Regions from separate parts of the Homo sapiens genome. Here all the other regions are linked to region 4. Evidence: promoter capture Hi-C in human tissues and cell types (Jung and others, 2019). All regions are on one chromosome and are shown on one strand. Each heading gives the region's core, a stretch centred on a gene start or on the middle of the fragment in contact. The rest is flanking DNA. Distances are from core to core; before and after follow the strand shown. Region 1 overlaps EIF4E1B (eukaryotic translation initiation factor 4E family member 1B). Region 2 overlaps SNCB (synuclein beta). Region 3 overlaps CDHR2 (cadherin related family member 2). Region 4 holds the start of CLTB (clathrin light chain B).

What was found. Contacts are between HindIII fragments. The study calls those that stand out against the background at their distance.
Region 1: a fragment that was not itself captured here is called in contact with the fragment with the promoter of CLTB in region 4 in 1 of the 25 tissues and cell types used here (liver).
Region 2: a fragment that was not itself captured here is called in contact with the fragment with the promoter of CLTB in region 4 in 1 of the 25 tissues and cell types used here (dorsolateral prefrontal cortex).
Region 3: a fragment that was not itself captured here is called in contact with the fragment with the promoter of CLTB in region 4 in 1 of the 25 tissues and cell types used here (spleen).

Annotation. Positions count from the first base shown.
Region 1 is chr5:176,638,595-176,642,973 of GRCh38, forward strand. EIF4E1B (eukaryotic translation initiation factor 4E family member 1B) reads left to right here. Exons shown (of 9, transcript NM_001099408.2): 2 at 3,449-3,571; 3 at 4,116-4,208. The coding sequence starts at 4,194. Among named protein-coding and RNA genes, the nearest start is that of TSPAN17, 6.7 kb to the right of the region's middle. The HindIII fragment of the contact is 5,153 bases long and covers 554-4,379 here.
Region 2 is chr5:176,619,100-176,623,297 of GRCh38, forward strand. It overlaps SNCB (synuclein beta), which reads right to left. Exons shown (of 6, transcript NM_003085.5): 5 at 2,115-2,204; 6 at 983-1,744. The coding sequence ends at 1,712. Among named protein-coding and RNA genes, the nearest start is that of MIR4281, 8.3 kb to the right of the region's middle. RefSeq lists a silencer at 93-362. The HindIII fragment of the contact is 5,194 bases long and covers 1-4,198 here.
Region 3 is chr5:176,593,375-176,598,019 of GRCh38, forward strand. CDHR2 (cadherin related family member 2) reads left to right here. Exons shown (of 32, transcript NM_017675.6): 32 at 2,158-2,450. The coding sequence ends at 2,298. GPRIN1 (G protein regulated inducer of neurite outgrowth 1) reads right to left here. Exons shown (of 2, transcript NM_052899.3): 2 at 2,428-4,645. The coding sequence ends at 3,434. Among named protein-coding and RNA genes, the nearest start is that of GPRIN1, 14 kb to the right of the region's middle. RefSeq lists silencers at 3,501-3,660, 3,801-3,890. The HindIII fragment of the contact is 5,900 bases long and covers 428-4,645 here.
Region 4 is chr5:176,413,726-176,417,856 of GRCh38, forward strand. It overlaps CLTB (clathrin light chain B), which reads right to left and starts at 2,814. Exons shown (of 6, transcript NM_007097.5): 1 at 2,452-2,814. The coding sequence starts at 2,638. It also overlaps a transcript of ARL10 not described here. RefSeq lists silencers at 2,317-2,396, 2,507-2,606, 2,647-3,106. The HindIII fragment of the contact is 14,544 bases long and covers 1-4,131 here.

The sequences.
Region 1 (4,379 bases), core at 1,880-4,379, 230 kb after region 4:
AGAAGTTCTGTAAAAAGTTGCAGAGGAAACTGCAAGTGCAAAGGCCCTGAGGCAGGAACAAATCTAGCCTTTTGGAGGCTCCATGTGCTCAGGGCATGGGAGGCTGGATCGCCTAAGAACCTTGCAAGCCCAGGACCTGGACTTTGGATCACATCCTGGGTGTCCTGGAGGTTTGTTTGTTTGTTTGTTTGTTTGTTTAAATGCAGTTTCACTCTTGTTGCCCAGGCTGGAGTGCAATGGTGCGATCTCGGCTCACTGCAACCTCTACCTCCCCAATTCAAGTGATTCTCCTGCCTCAGCCTCCCAAGTAGCTGGGATTACAGGTGCCTGCCACCATGCCCAACTAGTTTTGTTGCTGTTGTTGTTTGTTTGTTTGTTTTATTTTTAGTAGAGACACGGTTTTACCATGTTGGCCAGGCTACTCTCGAACTCCTGACCTCAGGTGATCCACTGGCCTCGGCCTCCCAAAGTGCTGGGATTACAGGCATGAGCCACCACAGCTGGCCTGGGTTTTAAACAAAGAAGTTACGTGACCAGATTAATATTTTAAATGATCCCCCCGAGGAACCTGGAGAACTTTCTGTAGGAAAGCAGGAGTGGAAGCAAGTGGAGTGTCAGGAAATACACAGCAGCCAAGGTCAGAACCAGCTTCTCTGGAGTCAGGGGAGTTGGGAGGGAGAGGAATGGGCAGATTCAAGATATTTTAGGAACAGGATGGTAGGGCTGGGATTTAAGAGCCCCTGCTGGTTCAATCCCAGCATGAAGATGTCCCCCATAGACAGACTTGGAAGGGCCTCAGCGAGGGGCCAGGATGCCTGTAGCGCCAGGGGGGTTGCTCTTAAGGTCTCTCCTTAGTCACCTCAATCCAAGACTCCAGGAGCTTCCCCAGGCTGGAAGCTGTGGGAAGTGGTGGGAAGGGGTGCTGTGGCTGGGAGGGTCCTTCCGAGCTGGGCTCTGGGCCACAGCTGTAAGGTAGCTAAGACCATGCCCGGTACTGGGGGGAGCCCTTCCTTCCTTTTTCTTCATCAGATCTAGATTCCTGGCCGGCACAGTGGCTCACACTCGTAATCCCAACACTTTGGGAAGCAAAGGCAGGAGAATCACTTGAACCCTCCCAGGCTGATTTGAGACCAGTCTAGGCCACATATTGAGACCTCATCTCTATTTTTTTTTTAATTGAAAATTAGCCAGACATGGTGGTGTGCACCTGTAGTCCCAGTTTCTCGGGAGGCTGAGGAGGGAGAATGAGCCAAGGAGTTTGAGGCTGCAGTGAGCTATGGTCATGCCACTACACTCCAGCTTGGGCAACAGAGCAAGACACTGTCTCAAAACAACAACAACAAAATCTAGATTCGTGAGCTCTTCCCAGCCTGGTCCTCTTCCAGTGCTCCCTCTGTCCAAATTTCTTCAATGCTCCTCCCACTGAGAGGTGGCAGTATGTCCCCTCCCTTGAATCTGGGCCTGTGACTCTAGTAGAATAGAGTGGGTCTGATGTGGTGCCAGGTTTCAGGCCCAGGCCTTAAGAAACTGGCAGCTTCTGCTTCCTGTCTCTTGGGATGCTTGCTCTGGGAACCCAGCCACCACGCCGGGAAGAAGCCAAGCAGCCACATGGAGAGGCCACGCAGTGCCATCCTGGCCAGCACCCCCAGCTGAGGCTCCAGCTGACAGCTGGCATCAGCTGCCCCACGTGTGAGTGAGCAGATGACTCCAGCCCCAACCTGTAAGCCACCCTAGCTGACCTCCCTTTGAAGGAGAGCTGGGCTGTCCTACTGAGCACTACCCACATTGCACGCTTGTGAGCATAATAAATGATGATTATTGTTTTAAGCCACTGAGTTTGGGGTGGTTTGTTGTGCAGCAATAGATAAGTGGGACACAGTGCTTCACCCCTCCAGGGCCTATCTATCACTAAATATCACTGAGTTTTCCTTCTACATACCCCTTGAGTCTATTATCATCTCTCCATCTTCTCTGCCGCCCCCTCTGTCACCTGGACGACTACATTAGCATCCTAGTCAGTGTTTCCCCACACCTTCTTGCAGCCACAGGGTTCTGTTTCCTACACAGCAATCCAGAGAACCTGCTGAAAAGCATATCTGATTGCCTCCCCAGCCAGTCTGTACATGCTCAAAATGCTCAGTGGCTCCCCACTGCCCCTAGGATCAGGCTTACCCATTTCTTTCCCCTTTTAGCTTCGCCCACACTGGCCTGTCTTCTCGTCCTCTGGTATTCCACATTCCCTTTGCCCCAGGGCATTTGCACATACTGTTCCCACTCCCAGAGATGCCCTCCCCGACCCAGTTAATTATTTCCTATTATTTCTTGTTTATGCTTTAGGTCTTTGCTCAAATACCACCTCTCAGTGACCTTCTTCTCAGTGGTTCTTAAAACGGGGTCCCTGGCCAGCAGCATCTGGGAACTTGTTAGAAATACAAACATCCTGGGCCTGGCGCTTTGGGTCACGCCTGTAATCCCAGCACTTGGGAGGCCAAGGTGGGCAGATTGCTTGAGTCTAGACATTCAAGACCAGCCTGGGCAACATGGCAAAACCCTACCTCTACAAAATAAAACAAAACAAAACAAAACTAGCCGGGCGTGGTGGTGCATGCCTGTAGTCCCAGCTACTCGGGAGGCTGAGGTGGGGGAATCACCTGAGCTGAGACGTCAAGACGGCAGTGAGCCAAGATGGCACCACTGCACTCCCGCCTGGGCAGCTGGAGTGAGACCTTGCCTGAAAACAATATAAATAAATAAATAAAATGGAAACATCCTCAAGCCCAAGCCCAGAACTAAGGCGTCAGAAGTTCTGAGACAGGGCCCAGCAGCGTGTGATGAGCAAGCCGTGCAGGTGATTCTGATACACGCACCTAAGAACTGCCGCTCTGAAGCCCCAGCTTGGATCGTGGACTTTTTAGGTTCTCCCATCCCCGAATCCCTTTCCTTCAGTGGGTTGTGTTTGTGACGACACAGATTGTCTGAGGGATGCATAATCTCATAAACCTGAGCACAGGGCCCGCTTGTTTTTCGCTCATCACCGTAGCAGCACCTAACCCTGTGCCTAGCACGTACCAGGGCTTAAGGCTGTGGGTTGAGCAAATACTCAGCCTCCAGATGGTCACGAGCCCCCCAAGTGTGGGGGAGGAGCAGGGCCTTTTATACGTCTGGGACCCTAAAAGTGCCCAAGGGGAGGAGGCAAAACTTTAAAGGACTTGGGGAGCCTTCAGCCTCCACAGAAAAGGGGTTGTTCAGAAGGCCGATAAAGGGTGTCCAAAGCTTCCCTGCCTTCCTTCCCCATCCCAGTCCCCACCCTCCCCAACCTGGGAGAACCCTCAGCTGACTTCTGTTGAGCACAAGCCAGGCCTTGTTCTACGGGTTCTATGTGTTCTATATCATTTAATACCCTCAACAAGCTTCTGAGTTGTGTATGATTAACATTTTCATTTTACAGATGGGGAAACTGACTCGATGAAGCTCAGGCCTGGCCGCGGTCAGGGTAGAATCAGGACTAGAACCCAGGCTGTGTGGCTGCAGCCCTGACCCTCACCATCCAGGTCAGGCAGAGAACACTCAGGTGGGGCAGGAGGTAAGGTGGGGGCTGTGGGGAGCCTCATGTGTCTCCAAAGGGACTGGGGGCCTGTGAGGCAGTGAGTCGGGGAGGAACTTTCCAAATCCTCAAGAGAAACCAAAAGTGTGAATCTTAGTATAAAACCCCCCTATGTCTAAATGTTGGCAGATGATTAAACTTTTAAAAAACTCAGATGCCACTGGGTATGGTGGCTCATGCCAGTAATCCCAGCACTTTGGGAGGCTGAAATGGGAGATCACTTGAGCCCAGGAGTTGCCTGGGCAACATAGTGAGATTCCTTCATCTCTAGTCAAAAGAATATTTTATTTAAAAACAAACAAACAAAAAAACTCAGGTGCTTCCAGAGACCAGATGAATACCTGCTCTGATGTGAGGTTGGGGATGGTGCCAGAAGGCCCCACGGCCATGTCAGTGTCTCTGCTTCTGCCATCGGCAGGGCCGTCCACCTCACATTCTGGGGTCACCCTCCACGGGATGCAGACCTTGCTTTCCCTTCGAGCAGGCTCCAAATATTGACGCTTACCTTCAGGTCTTGGCCCCCATGGTGTGGGGCTTGGTCACAGCTGCTTCCCCAGCCCCAGGCCTGCACGAAGAAGGCACTCACTAAATGCTTGCTGTTGAGGTAATCAGCCTGGCCTCTCTACCCCCAGTGCACCATGGCCCCGCCCTCTCCCCCCCCCCCCCCGCCCCAGGTGGGCGGGGCAGGTGCTGGTGGGTTAAAAGCTGGTAGCTGGGGGCTTTTCAGATGCTGGGTCCTCCATGGAGTTTGAGCTGGGCATGGCTACTGAAGGCC
Region 2 (4,198 bases), core at 1,099-3,598, 200 kb after region 4:
CTAACTGAATAGAGCAACCTTCTTCCAGCTAGAGGCTGGAGGGCGAGGCAGGCTTGCGGCACGAATTGAGGTCGCACTGAGGTTTAGAATAGGGCAGGGTCTTGCGCAGGCGAGTTTGGGGGCCTCTGCGGCATAGCCACGCCAAGAGCCAGTCCGGGTGGGGGCGGGGCCTCTGCGGGACGGGGCGGGGCCTCGGTGCAAGCGCGGAGAGAGGGCCTCTGCGGCAAGAGGGCAGGGGCGGGGCCTCGCGCAGGGACTGCCTATGCCAATAAAGGCAGCGCATGGGGGGCGGTGCCTCTGCGCGGAGCCAGCAGTATCTCCGCCCCCATCTTTCTCACTCTGAGGCGGTGTTGGGGGCCCCCTAGTGCTGATCCTGATCCGCTCAAGGCTCCCGGGCGGCATCCCAGACCTCTGCGGGCCCTCGCCCACCTCAAACTTTCGGCCTCAAACATTCCGGCGCCTTCGTGGGGGTGGGAGGGTGGAGCACCGGAGGCCAGGGCTCTGCTGGCTGCAGGGGCAGTTGCCCATTTCCCTTCCCCTTAGACAAGTTTTTCTGCTTTGGGCAGGTGCGCGCGGGGCTTTGTGCGTGTCCACGTTCTGGAGTGGGAGAGGTCTTTCAGCGCTCGAATGGGATGCACGTGTTGGCCAGCGTGCATGCACGCTCGCGCGGCCAGAGTGCGCACACTCGGGTTCGCGCATATGGACCCACGGACAGGCACGCGGGTCCGCACGTGAGTGGGCATCGGCGCGCCTGCGCTACCTGTGCGGCCAGTTGTGAGCCCTTCCGCCCCAACGCTGCGGCGGCATGGGGCTTCCCTAGATCCTGCACTCCCAGCTGGCACTTTAGGGACTAGCAGGAGGCGCCCGAGGCCACCTTCCCGCCTCCCAGCCAACTGCGTGTCCCAGCCCCGGGGGCACCCTCCCCGACCTGCCTTCCGGGGGACAGAGTGGGAGATGGAGACGCGAAGCCAGAGGTGGCCAGTCTTGTACCTGGGCTGTGTGTGCCAGACCCCAAAGAGCACAGAGGGGTAGGCTGGGACCTGGAAGACTCGCCGCCACGTGTCGCCCCCACCCGGCGCCCAGCCCAGCCCTGCCGGTGCGGCTCTGGCTACAGACAGATTAGCTTTATTCATGGACTCTCGGGGGCGGCCGGGCCCACCCGCCCGGGACACGCTCACATGGGGGGGATGGGGACTCTCCATGCCACAATCACAACACACGACGCCCGCGTTCGGACCGGGCCGGCTGGGATGGGGGGCGGGGGACATGGCACAGCCTGGCTCCTGGTTTTGGTTAAAAAAAAAAAGGTTCTCGAGGTTAATGGGAGTCGGGCGGGGTGCTCTGGGGCTGCCCGGGGGCCGCTTGGAGAGCCACTGTCGGGGATCGGGGAGGAGCCGTCGCTCGGATCTTCGTTTAAAAACACATAGAACATGCTACATCCGCGCAGACGCTGGATGGGAGGAGGCAACACTGGAGGGGCGAGGCTCCCAGCCGCGACCGCAACCCTGGCCCTGTCCATGCCCCGGGGTTGGACGCGGGCGGGTAGGACAGACAGATGGACAGACACTAACACAGGCTCCGAGGGGGTTGCCTCAGAGCGGAAGGAAGATCTCGTGATTGGGGAGAAGGAGTCTAAGGACAGCCCTGGCTCTGGGGGGCGGGGCAGGGACAGGGACAGAATTGTGCTGCTGGTGGGGGCTCTCCTGGGCCCCTACGCCTCTGGCTCATACTCCTGATATTCCTCCTGCATCACCGGGATGGGGGTGGAGTAGAGAAGAGCAAAAAGGAGGAGGAGTTTGAGACCAAGTGGCCAAGCCCCGGCCCAAGAACCCTCTCCCTGAAGGAGGAATAGCACATTCCCCTTTTCCTGGGCAGGGGAGGAGCCTGGAAGTTGGGGACAACAGAGAATTCTTGGGCAGGTGTGCCTGGGGCCCAGCGCTAGACCCTATCTGCCCTCTCCTCCCTGCTCCCACCTCCTGGGGCCTGGGTTCTAGAAGAGGGATGTCAAGCTCCCTGGCCCAACCATCTCATGCCAGGGATGTCCCACCCCAGCTAGGGACGGCAGCAATCATCCTGGATTCCCAAAGTCCCGCCCAGCCCTGCTGCCCCCTCACCTGGGGTGGGTCCTCATAACTCTCCCCTTCTGGCTCCATCAGGGGCTCAATCAGTGGTTCTTCAGCAGCTTCCTGGGCCACTTCCTCTGGCTGTGGGCAGAAAAGGTCAGGACTCGTGAGGACAGCCAGGATGCCCCCCAAATTCCCACAGTGGTAAGCTTTGGGTGGGTTGGAGTGGGGAAGGCTAGGGTGGGTTGGCAGAGCAAGGATAATTTCTAATTCAGTTATTTATTTGGAGTGCCTTGGAAGTGGGATGGAGGTGAAGGGGGAAATTCCCCCGAATCACAGTTGAAGTGGCAGCATGGAGTGGGAGCTGGCTCTCCACGCCGCTCCCCCAATGCCTGGCAGCCTCCACACTTCCACCATTTGGATACTCAGTCACCAGCTTATGCCTCATCCTTTGTGTCAGGCTCTGTGCTGGGCATCGGGACCCCAGAGATAACCCTCAGGCTCCCCTGGGCTGAAGGGAGCTGGAGGCTCAGGGACAGGGCTGGGCAGGGGCTCTGAGCCATTCCCCCGCCACCTTCCACTCATCCCTCCCCCGGGCCCTGTGTGGCCTCGTTTCTTCAGCTGTTGCTATTTTAAGATAAGCTGGAAGCCACAGCTCGTGGTGTTGCTTGGATGTGTGAGCTAAGACTCTCCCCCCCACCCGCTGCGTCTGCTGCCCAGACAGGCGCAGACCAGCGGGCATGCATGTGGGCGGGCTGCCAGACACATGGCCAGCCACCTGCAGGTGACCACATGTATGTGAACAAACATGGGACTGAGCTGGCTGCACACACAAGCACACGCGATAGCTTAGGATCCATGCACAGCCTGTGCAGTGCCTCATGTGGGGCTGGCACACGCCTGGGATCCCGGAGCATTGGTGCTGGGGAAAGCCTGCCCTGACCACGTCTGCACCCTGGGTGTCCCAGCTCCATCCAGGCAGCGTCAGCTCCTTCACATTACCTGTCTAAGTGGGCCCTGTGGGCACATGAGTTTCCAGCTCCTGACCTGGCTCATTTCCCCACTGCACAGATGCGTATGCCAAGGCCCAGGAGGTGGGGAAATGTTAGTTTGCCCCCAAGTCACCCAGCTATGACCAGAACCCAGGGATGGAATGTAGTGCTAAAAATGCCAGCTTGATAGCTGGGCACTGTGGTGCGTGCCTCTAGTCCCAGCTACTTGGGAGGCTGAGGCAGGAGAATCGCTTGAACCCGGGAGGCGGAGTTTGCAGTGAGCCAAGATCACGCCACTGCACTCCAGCCTAGGTAACAGAGTGAGACTCCATCTCAACAAAACAAAACAAAACAAAACAAAACAAAACAAGCCAGCTTGAGCACATTGTTTGGAAACAACCCAAATGTCCAACATCAGTAGAATGGATGTGTGCCTTGTGACCTAACGACACAATGGAATACTACATAACAAGAATGAAGAACAACAATGCATACAAGAGCAGGGCTGAGTCTCACAAGCTTCCTGATGAATGGAGGAAGCCAGATACAGAACAGAAGAGCATGGCCTTCATGATGACTTTTTTTTTTTTTTTTTTTTTTTTGAGACAGTCTCACTCTGTGGCCCAGGCTGGTGCGCAGTGGTGTGATCTCGGCTCACCGCAACCTCAGCCTCCTGGGTTCCAGCGATTCTCCTGCCTCAGCTTCCCAAGTAGCTGGGATTACAGGCATGTGCCACTGCATCTGGCTAATTTTTGTATTTTTAGTAGAGATGGGGTTTCGCCATGTTGGTCAGGCTGTTCTCAAACTCCTGACCTCAGGTGATCTGCCCACCTCGGCCTCATGCCTGGGATTACAGGCATGAGCCACTGTGCCCAGCCTCATGATAACATTTACAAGAAGTCAAAAAACACCCAACTAGTGTTGTGCTGATAGAAGCCAGGAAGCAAGGCCAGGCATAGTGGCTCACGCCCGTTACCACTCCCAGCATTTTGGGAGGTCAAGGTGGGCAGATCACTTGAGGTCAGGAGTTTGAGACTAGCCTGGCCAACATGGTGAAACCCATCTCTACTAAATATACAAAAATTAGCTGGGCATGGTGGTGCACGCCTGTAGTCTCAGTTACTCAGGAGGCTGAGGCAAGAG
Region 3 (4,645 bases), core at 2,128-4,627, 180 kb after region 4:
CAAGAGTTCTGATTCTGATGGCCCACGTGGAGCCTGGGCATGGACCTGTTGTAAAAGCCGCTCAGGGGGTGCTAAGGTGCAGGCACGGTGGACACCGCTGGAGCGGGTCAGCAGGCTGAGTGTGGGGTGGGTCCTGGACATGGAGGGGTGGCTCTCTGGAAACAGAAGGAACTGCCCTCTCTCCTTCCCACTTTGAAAGCCACCTCTGGAGGAGACGCTTAAGGCCCATTGGAGCTGTGATAGGCTGAGGTTCTGTGTGTGGTGCTGCGGGGGATCCACCCACATTTTCCCCCAGTCTGGGTTCTGGGCTTGGCTGGGTCCCAGGCCACTAGGGGCTCCCAACCTGACTTCATGGTTCAGAATTTGTTTTCCCTGAGGACTCCTTACATGGAAAGATTTGGTCAACCGAAGCCTCTCTTGGTCTTTAAAATGGTAGAATGTCGCACAGGGGCCCAGGTATAACACGGTACAGGGAATCTGGCACAGAGGCCTCCGGACAGGCCCCAGGTATGGTTGTGTGGGTGGTAATGCAGGCAGCCAGGCAGCGCTGGAGGCCTCTGGGTAGATGCTAGGAGATGGTTAGTGGCCAAAACTCTAATGAACATGTCTGGGGAACTGAGGCGAAGGAACAGTCTTGTCTACTGGAGTGCATGGCCTGTGGCAGAGGCTGATGCTGCTCCTAACCCAAGGGAGTGGAGTTAAGGACCCCCTGAGGTGTGGCTGGATCTGTGGACTGGGAAGGGGCAGGGAAGTAGGAGAAGGGTCTGGAGAGGGTGTGGGGACAAGTCACGGAAAGTCTTCAAAGCCAGAAAATTGCTCAGATTATGTCCTGGGAGGGCAGGGGGTTGCTATATTTCTGAGAAGCTGCCCAAGGCTCCACCCTGTCTCCTGCAGCAGTGAGTCTTGCGGGTCTCTGGGCAGGTCCACGAGGCATGGGGCCTTTTTGGGAGCTGTCTGCCCCCTGCTCTCCCATGGCTGGGGTGGCGCAGGTGGATCCTTTTCCCAGGAATCTCTTGGTGCCCTGACTTGTCTAAGCTCCACACGTCTGTGTGGTAGGTGTGAGTGGCTGGAGAGATTATCACTCTAACCTCCCCAAGTAACCAGCAAGGAAATTCACATCCAGAGAGGGGTGCTGACTTGCTCAAAGTGGGACAGCTTGCAGGGCAGGGGCAGACCAGAACCCAGGTCTTTGGTCTCTGGCACCAGGTCATGTTATCGTGGGTGGCACTGAGCCTGCAGCTCTCCACTTGGGGTCTGTCTTGAGGGCTCTGAGGAACACAGGCAGAATGCTTAGCCCCTCTGGGGCCCCTCGGATGTTCCACTGTTTACTAGGGACCAGAACAGCCCCAGTCTGGAAAAAGCCCTTGGAGTGCCCTGGGGAGGGCGGTGGTGGCCGGGGCTCTGGCCCTGTGGGTGTCTCTGTAGCAGAGCAGCTGAGCTTGGGGGCCTGGCTGTTCCACAGGAGGGTGTGTGTGTGTGTGCACGCACACAGCATGTCGCATGGCGAGGTGGAAGAGGAAGGGCGGGAGAGATGAGTGAGTGTGTGCCATGATAAACTGCAGGTGGGACCAGCCTGTGGGCAGCGTCCCTCTGAGGGCAGCAAAAAGAGACGTCAAATTCAACCAGGGCAGTGTCACATCATGGACACGCTTTTGAACCAGCAAGACCAGTGGTCTGCCCCTCTTCACCAGTAGACCTCTCTAAGCCTCAGTTTCCACATCTGTGAAGAGAGGACATGTTCCCTCCCTCAGAGGGTTTCAGTGGGTAGTTGAGGTAATGGATGGACCTCAACCCACACGGTGCCTGCCGTGGGGTACAGGGGGCAGGAACTGCGCTGGGCTGGCTCCTCGGCACAGGACACAGGGCCTGGCATTATTTGGAACTGGGCTGAACGGCAGAGTGCCGCAGTGTTGGTGGGCAGGGCAAAGGCAAGAGTGAATCCCCCAGGCCACACCCTCCCCCTCCCCTAATCTGCATCACCATTAGCCAGGGCCACCTCTGGGACACAGCCTGGACCAGAGGCCCCAGGAGGGGCAGGGTGGGACCCCTGCCAAGGAACCACTGGTCGTGAGCTTGAAGCCCATCCACTCCCCTAGGGCCTGGGGCACTCGCCCCACCTTGCCTTGCCCTTCACACCTCCTCTCCCTCTCCCTGCAGGAGCACAGGCCACCACACACACCACCAGAGCCAGATCCAGAGCCCCTGAGCGTGGTCCTGTTAGGACGGCAGGCAGGCGCAAGTGGACAGCTGGAGGGGCCATCCTACACCAACGCTGGCCTGGACACCACGGACCTGTGACAGGGGCCCCCACTCTTCTGGACCCCTTGAAGAGGCCCTACCACACCCTAACTGCACCTGTCTCCCTGGAGATGAAAATATATGACGCTGCCCTGCCTCCTGCTTTTGGCCAATCACGGCAGACAGGGGTTGGGGAAATATTTTATTACCAATGTATACTGTGACAGTTTGTAGCCAAAAACTGCGGCTGGAGGGGTGGGGACGGGACACTGAGTGGTCACAAGGGACTTGGGCTCACAGCACAGGGGGGACAAGGGGCTGGAGAGGGTGGCCTTTAAAAGACAACTGTGGTTATAGAATGAGCTCTCTGTCCTGTCCCCAATACCCAAGAACACCGGTCACCCAGGATGCCAGGGCCCAAGAGCTTCTGTGAGCCCAGCTGTGACCTCCAGACCTTCCTGAGACCCTCTGGCCTTTCTGTGACTCTCTCTCAGCTGAGCCCCCAGGGTACTTCCTGTAGCTGTCTTTGGCCTCTCTGGGAATCTCAAACCTGTGACTCAGTGGGAGAGGGGATGGGGCTGGAACCAGGCGGGTGGGAGATAGGAACTGGGGAAGGACCACCAACAGCATGCAAGAGACGCCCCGGCCACGGGGCCAGCCACTGCGTGGAGACGCTCACACTCGTTCTACCTCACGTGCTGCCCGAGACCTCACATTCAGAGACGTGCCCACTCGCGGGTCTCACACACCGATCCTCACCCACTTGAAGCTTCTGCCACTCAGACTTGTATGCAGTCTCTCCCTGTTCTGGGGATCTGGCCCCACCGGAGACCACAACGCACCAGTCTAGACATCTCAGGAGCCTGCCCCAGCTCTCAGGGGGTGGGAGGTGAGGGTGCTGAGCAGGCCCCCGTGGTCGCCCAGTGTGACCGGGAGTAGAGCTGAGGGCTGTGAGGGGACAGTGGGGCGTCAGGGCTGGCCGGGTTCGTGGCCTCGTGGCCACGAGGGAGCTTGGTAGAAGGGGTTCTTCTGTATTTGTGATGGGAGGGGCTGGAAAGACGGGGACGCAACAGCCCTAGAGGCTGCACAACCCCTCGGAGGCCTGTGGCACGCAGAGGGGACCCCTTCTAGGGGCCTGTGATCAAGAAGGGAGCCTGAGAAGGTCGGAAACTCGGGCGTACAAAATGGGGGCAGATCACTCGGCCGTGGGTCCCGCCCGCGAGCAGCACCGCGGCCGGCGCACACTCTGCAGCAGCGCGCGGAACAGGCCGGGCGGACGCTTGGCGGCGCCATCTGGGGGCGCGGTGCGCACCGAGCCCGAACGGCCGGGGCCGGCACGGGCGGCGGGCGGCGGCGCGGGCGCCCCTTGGCGGCCGTGCTCCTCGATCTGTCGCTCCAGATGCTTCTGGATGGCCATGCCCAGCACCTCCACCTCCATGGCGGCGCCGTATACCTCCCACGTCATGCCCTTCTCGTCCCAGCTCACGTCTCGCACGGGCTCAGCCGGCTCCGGGGGCGCTACAGCGGCCGCCAGCGCTGAGCCGGGCCGCACCCGCACTTCGGGGAAGGCGGGCGGCGCGGCGGCTTGAGGTGTCATGGGCCCAGTGGCCACGGAGCGCGTCTCGGCGGCGCCCAGCGACACCTGCAGGCCCGCATCTCGGCGCGAGGGCGGGCTGGGCGCGCGCGGCGCCGCCTGGAAGCTGAAGGCCGAGCCCCCAGCGCCGTCCTGCGGAGACATGGGGCTCACGGCCACTGAGACGCAGGCCTGCGCGCCCGCCTGAGTGCCCGCGTCCTCGCGCGGCGGCGGCGGGGCGCTCGCCTCCCACGACGGCGCCTTGGTGAAGTTGTCGCGAGTCCGCGGCCCCGGCGGGGGCGCTGCGGCCTCTGGGCAGGGGCTTCTCTCGGCCCCAGCGGCTTCCAGGTCTTTCTGGCCGAGACTGGAGGCCTCGGTGCTGGACACGGGCTCGGCCTTCGGCTCCACGCGGCCTTCACTGCCCCTGGCACCCTCGGGAGACCGGGCTGAGCCGAGGGCTTTGCGGTCTAACTGCCTGGAGGAGGAGGACGGCTTGGTCTTCTCCAGACTCAGGGGGACCACCTTCCCCAAGGATGGGGACTCCGTTTTTCTGGAAGGTGCAGAGTCGGCTTTCCCCAGGGACACAGGCTCTCCCTTCCCTGAGGCAAGGGGCTCTGCTTTTCTGCAGGATCCAGGATCCACCTTCTCTGAGGCCTGTGGTGTCTCCTTTTTCAAACACACAGCCCCTGCTTCCCCTGGTGCTGCAGCGCCCTCTTGCCCAGGGAGCTTTGTTTCTGCTTTGCCACCAGACTGCGGCTGTGCTTTCCCCGAGGCCCTGGGATCCGCCTTTGTGGTGGTAACAGGACTCCCCTTCTCTAGAGGCAGAGAACCCAC
Region 4 (4,131 bases), core at 1,564-4,063:
ACCTGTTCAGCACTGCATAGGCTGAGAAGGTCAGATCAATTCTAGCCCATCTGGCCATCCACTGAGCCGCCATCCCTCAACACCTCCCTGCTCCCCGATCCAACTAAGGAGGGCAGCTGAGCCTTTGCAGAGTCAGCAGGTATGCGCCTGGGAGACCCTCAGAAGGCTGTATCCCCGGCACCTCCCTGGAAGAAGCGAGCGTGTCATTGTTTCTCTCCCTGTCACCTCTGGTCTGAGGCCAATTTGTGCCCCACCCCTGCCAAGGACAGAACTTGCCATCCAGACTGTAAGTCCCTGGAGCCCCACCATCCTGGGAGAGGCCACAACCTGCTCAGCTCCCTCAGGCATCTGGCTGCCCTCAGCCTGAATCCCATCTTTTCTCTCCTGAGGTTCTCACAATGGCTCCCCTCAGCAGGACCTCCCCACAAGGCCTCCCTCCTCTTCCCTGCACCCCGACCCCAACAGGCCCCAGTGAGCCAGACTGAGGAAAAGGGTGGTCTCACAGAGGTGTGGTCCAGTGAATACTGGTGCATTAACTGGGGCAGGCATTTCTTAGGAATTCCCTGGGACACGGCAGATTCTGTATTGAGGTGCTGGAAGCTTCCACTTCAGAAGCCCTCCATTGCTGTCTCAGATAGGTGGCAAAAGACCCCATGCTTCTCACCCCACATCCTATCTCCTGCCAGGGAGGTGACTGCTATAGAATCTTTTTTTTTTTTTTTTTGAGACAGGGTCTCACTCTGCTGCCCAGGCTGGAGTACAGAGACGTGATCACAGCACACGGCGACCTACCTACACCTCCCGGGCTCAAGCTATGCTCCTGCCTCAGCCTTCCCGAGCAGCTGGAACTACAACTACAGCTACATGCCACCATGCCTGGCTAATTTTTGTATGTTTTGTAGAGATGGGGTTTCACCATGTTGCCCAGGCTCCACAGCATTTGAAAGAGCATGGAGCCCAGAGTTGGGAGGCGTGGGATCAAGTCCTAGATTGGTCATTCCTGGCTGTGTGACTCTGGGCAAGATACTCAGATTCTCTGGGCCACCGGTTTCTTGCATGTTACAAAAGCCTGGTTACATTTCTCATATCAAGGAGATACAGAGTTGCTTCAAACTCCTCAGCCACAGGAACTGTCTTATTCATTTCTGTATCCCCAGCGTCCTGACACACAGTAGGTGCTCAGTAAACGTTGAATGGATACAAACATGACTGTGAAGAGCCTTGTAAACATCATTAACCAAAATATGTCTATATGTATATATGTTAGCACTTACTACAACAGGCCCATAAACCTTTCCAAAATGACATCAACAGGAAGTAAAACCTGTTTTGGATGTACCCATGAAGGTGATATCTACTTTTTTACTAAATATTTTACAAAATCATTCTTGCTAGCCAGAACCAGGGCAGAAACATCATTGATAAAGATGATTTCACAGGGACTAGGCCCTGAACACTGAGGTCTGAAGCCAATCACAGTAAATCATAATAGCCCCGGACCACCTTTGGAAAACCATTAAGTCGACAACTACAAAACCCTGAAGGGCCCTACCGCATCTGACTGATGCCTCTTTGTGGCCCACACTCCGGTGTCTAACTCAGAGCCAGACACTTGGTAGGCAGTGTGGTCAGGTGGAGAGGGCTTCAAGTCCGACAGGAACAGGTTTAAATTCACGGCCAGGTGTGGTGACTCACACCTGTAATCCCAACACTTTAGGAGGCAGAGGTGGGAGGATTGCTTGAGCCCAGGAGCTCAAGACCAGTCTGGGCAACATAGCGAGACCCCATCTCAAAAAAAGGAAAAGAAAAAATATATATGTAAAAGAAAAAGAAACAGGTTTAAATTCTTGATCTGCCACTTACTAGTTATTTCAATAGCATACTCCCTTGAGCCTCAGTTTTACCATCTCTGAAATGGGTTCAATCACGTGTATGAAGTGATTAAATGTAACCAAGGCGCTTAGCCCAGCGACTGCCGAATGCCAGGCGGTCACCGGGGAAGGTTAGTGAGTTCCTGGAGCACCCAGGATCCTCTTTTTTCCCAGCTGCAGGAGAGAGCTAAGCCTGAGGGGCCAGGAGGGCTGTGTTCTGCCCACACCTGCACACTTAGCTGGGAGCCTGGGACACCCAGGCTATTAGGAGGCTCAGGAGGGACTCTCAAAACTGAGGTGGGGTTGGATTCCAGAGCCGGGCAGTGGGGAAGCTGGCCTGGGGATGAAATGTCATGACCGAATTCCTGTCCCGGGAGTCACCAGATCCACAGCCCCAGGCGAGGCCTCATCCCCAGCTCGGAAGTCCTACATGGAGATCTCCAAGAAGATTCTTCCCCACGTCTCCCAGCTCCTGCCCCGGGTGGCCTAGAGCAGGCTCTCTTCCCTGTGCCCCTGGGCCCCGGCCGGGGTCCCCCGGGTGCGCGCCCTGAGCCCCTCTCCAGGCCCCGCGCTGACTCACCCCCACTCGTGGGGCCCGGCTGCGCGGGGGCCGCATGGCTGCCGGCAGGTGCCCCGAAGCCCTCGTCGTTCTCTATGCCTGCAATCTCGCTCTCCTGCTGGGCCAGGAAGGCGGCCGCCGGGTCCTCCTCCGCCGCCTCCGGGGCACCGCTCTCCGACGACGAGAAGAAGCCAAAGTCATCAGCCATTTTCCCCGCGCCTCCGCCGGAGCCTCCGCTGCGCTCGGCTCTGCCCGCGCCTGCCCCGCGCTGCGTCCGGCGGCCGCGACGCTGTCACCCGAGCCGCGGGGGAGCCGGCGTCGGCGGGGACGGGCTTGGCGCGGACCGCACTTCCTCTCCGCCACCGGGCCCGGCTGGCTGTCACTGCGGTGCGGGCGCCGCGGCGGGAGGAGCGGAGCCGGAATGCGGTGACGTCACCGCGGGGGCGGGGCCGCAGGGCCGGGAGGTCGCCGAGCAGCGGCCGCAGGAGGGCGCCTCAGGACTGGGCGCAGCGCTGGGCCCGGGACCGGCGCGGCGCTTCCCTCCCTCCGCAGCGGCGCCCAGCTGCTCGCGTCGAGGACACCTGGGCTAGGCACTGCTCCCGCCCGGCCTGGAGGCGAAACGCAGGGCACAGAGTGGCCGTACCGTGCACAGAGCTGCGACAGGAGGCCACCTCTGGCCTCGGGAGCGCAGACCTGGCTCCTGATTCATTCTGCAGAAGTTTCTTCTCCTAGGTTGGGATGTCATGCACCTCATTCTATGAGCCTCCGCCTCTGTAAGAAGAGGAAAATTGAGGCTGGGAAAGGCTGCCCCGCACCTTTTCATGCAAGTCCAGGTCCTTTCCCACTAGGCCGTGTTGTTTTGTGTATTTTTTTGTGTATCTCCCTTGAGGAGGCTTCAGTTCATACGACCAGAGTTTGGATGGCCAGCTAGGCCCCTTAAATGTCCTTTAGGTATGAACCAGCCTGAGAAAGGCAGACCTGGTTTACCCAGGCAGCCTACCACTCTCCACGCTGCCCGCTGCCCTCTGTGAACAGGCTCTGAATGCCTCCTCCCTGCCTGCGCTTTGCCAAGCACCAGGACAGCAACGTTTTATAAAATCCAGCCATGGCCATGCGGAGATTACAATCCGGTGAGACCAACAGATGGCAAATGGCCTGTCAAAGCACTGTGTGTGAGGCGCTGTGACATTTAAACACGGGGTATAGGGAGACGATGCAAAGAAACACCATGGGATTTGGGCTGTCTGCTATTTCTAATGTGGGACTTGAAAGGCAACTATGAAATATGGACTGGAAGAGCGAAAGGAAAGATGTGCCGCCAAGTTGGGGGTGGAAGTGGAGTTGGGGTGAAGGGACCTTCCAGGTGTTTTTTTTTTTTTCTTTTTAATTTTTTTATTTAGAGACAGGGCCTCGCTATATTAACTGGGCTGGTCTTGAACTGCTGGCCTCAGGGGATCCTCCTGCCTTGGTCTCCCAAAACACTGGGATTACATGTGTGAGCTACCAAGCCCAGCTGGAACTTTCAGTTTAATTGGTAACAACTTGAGCACCTTTTGATGTTACTGTTTTTGGGGGGGTTTTTATTGTTTTATTTAATTAAATTAATGTATTTATTTATTGCTGTCCATTTGCATGGTTTTGTTGTTGTTGTTTGTTTGTTTTTTGTTTTGAGACAGGATCTTACTCTTGCCCAGGCTAGAG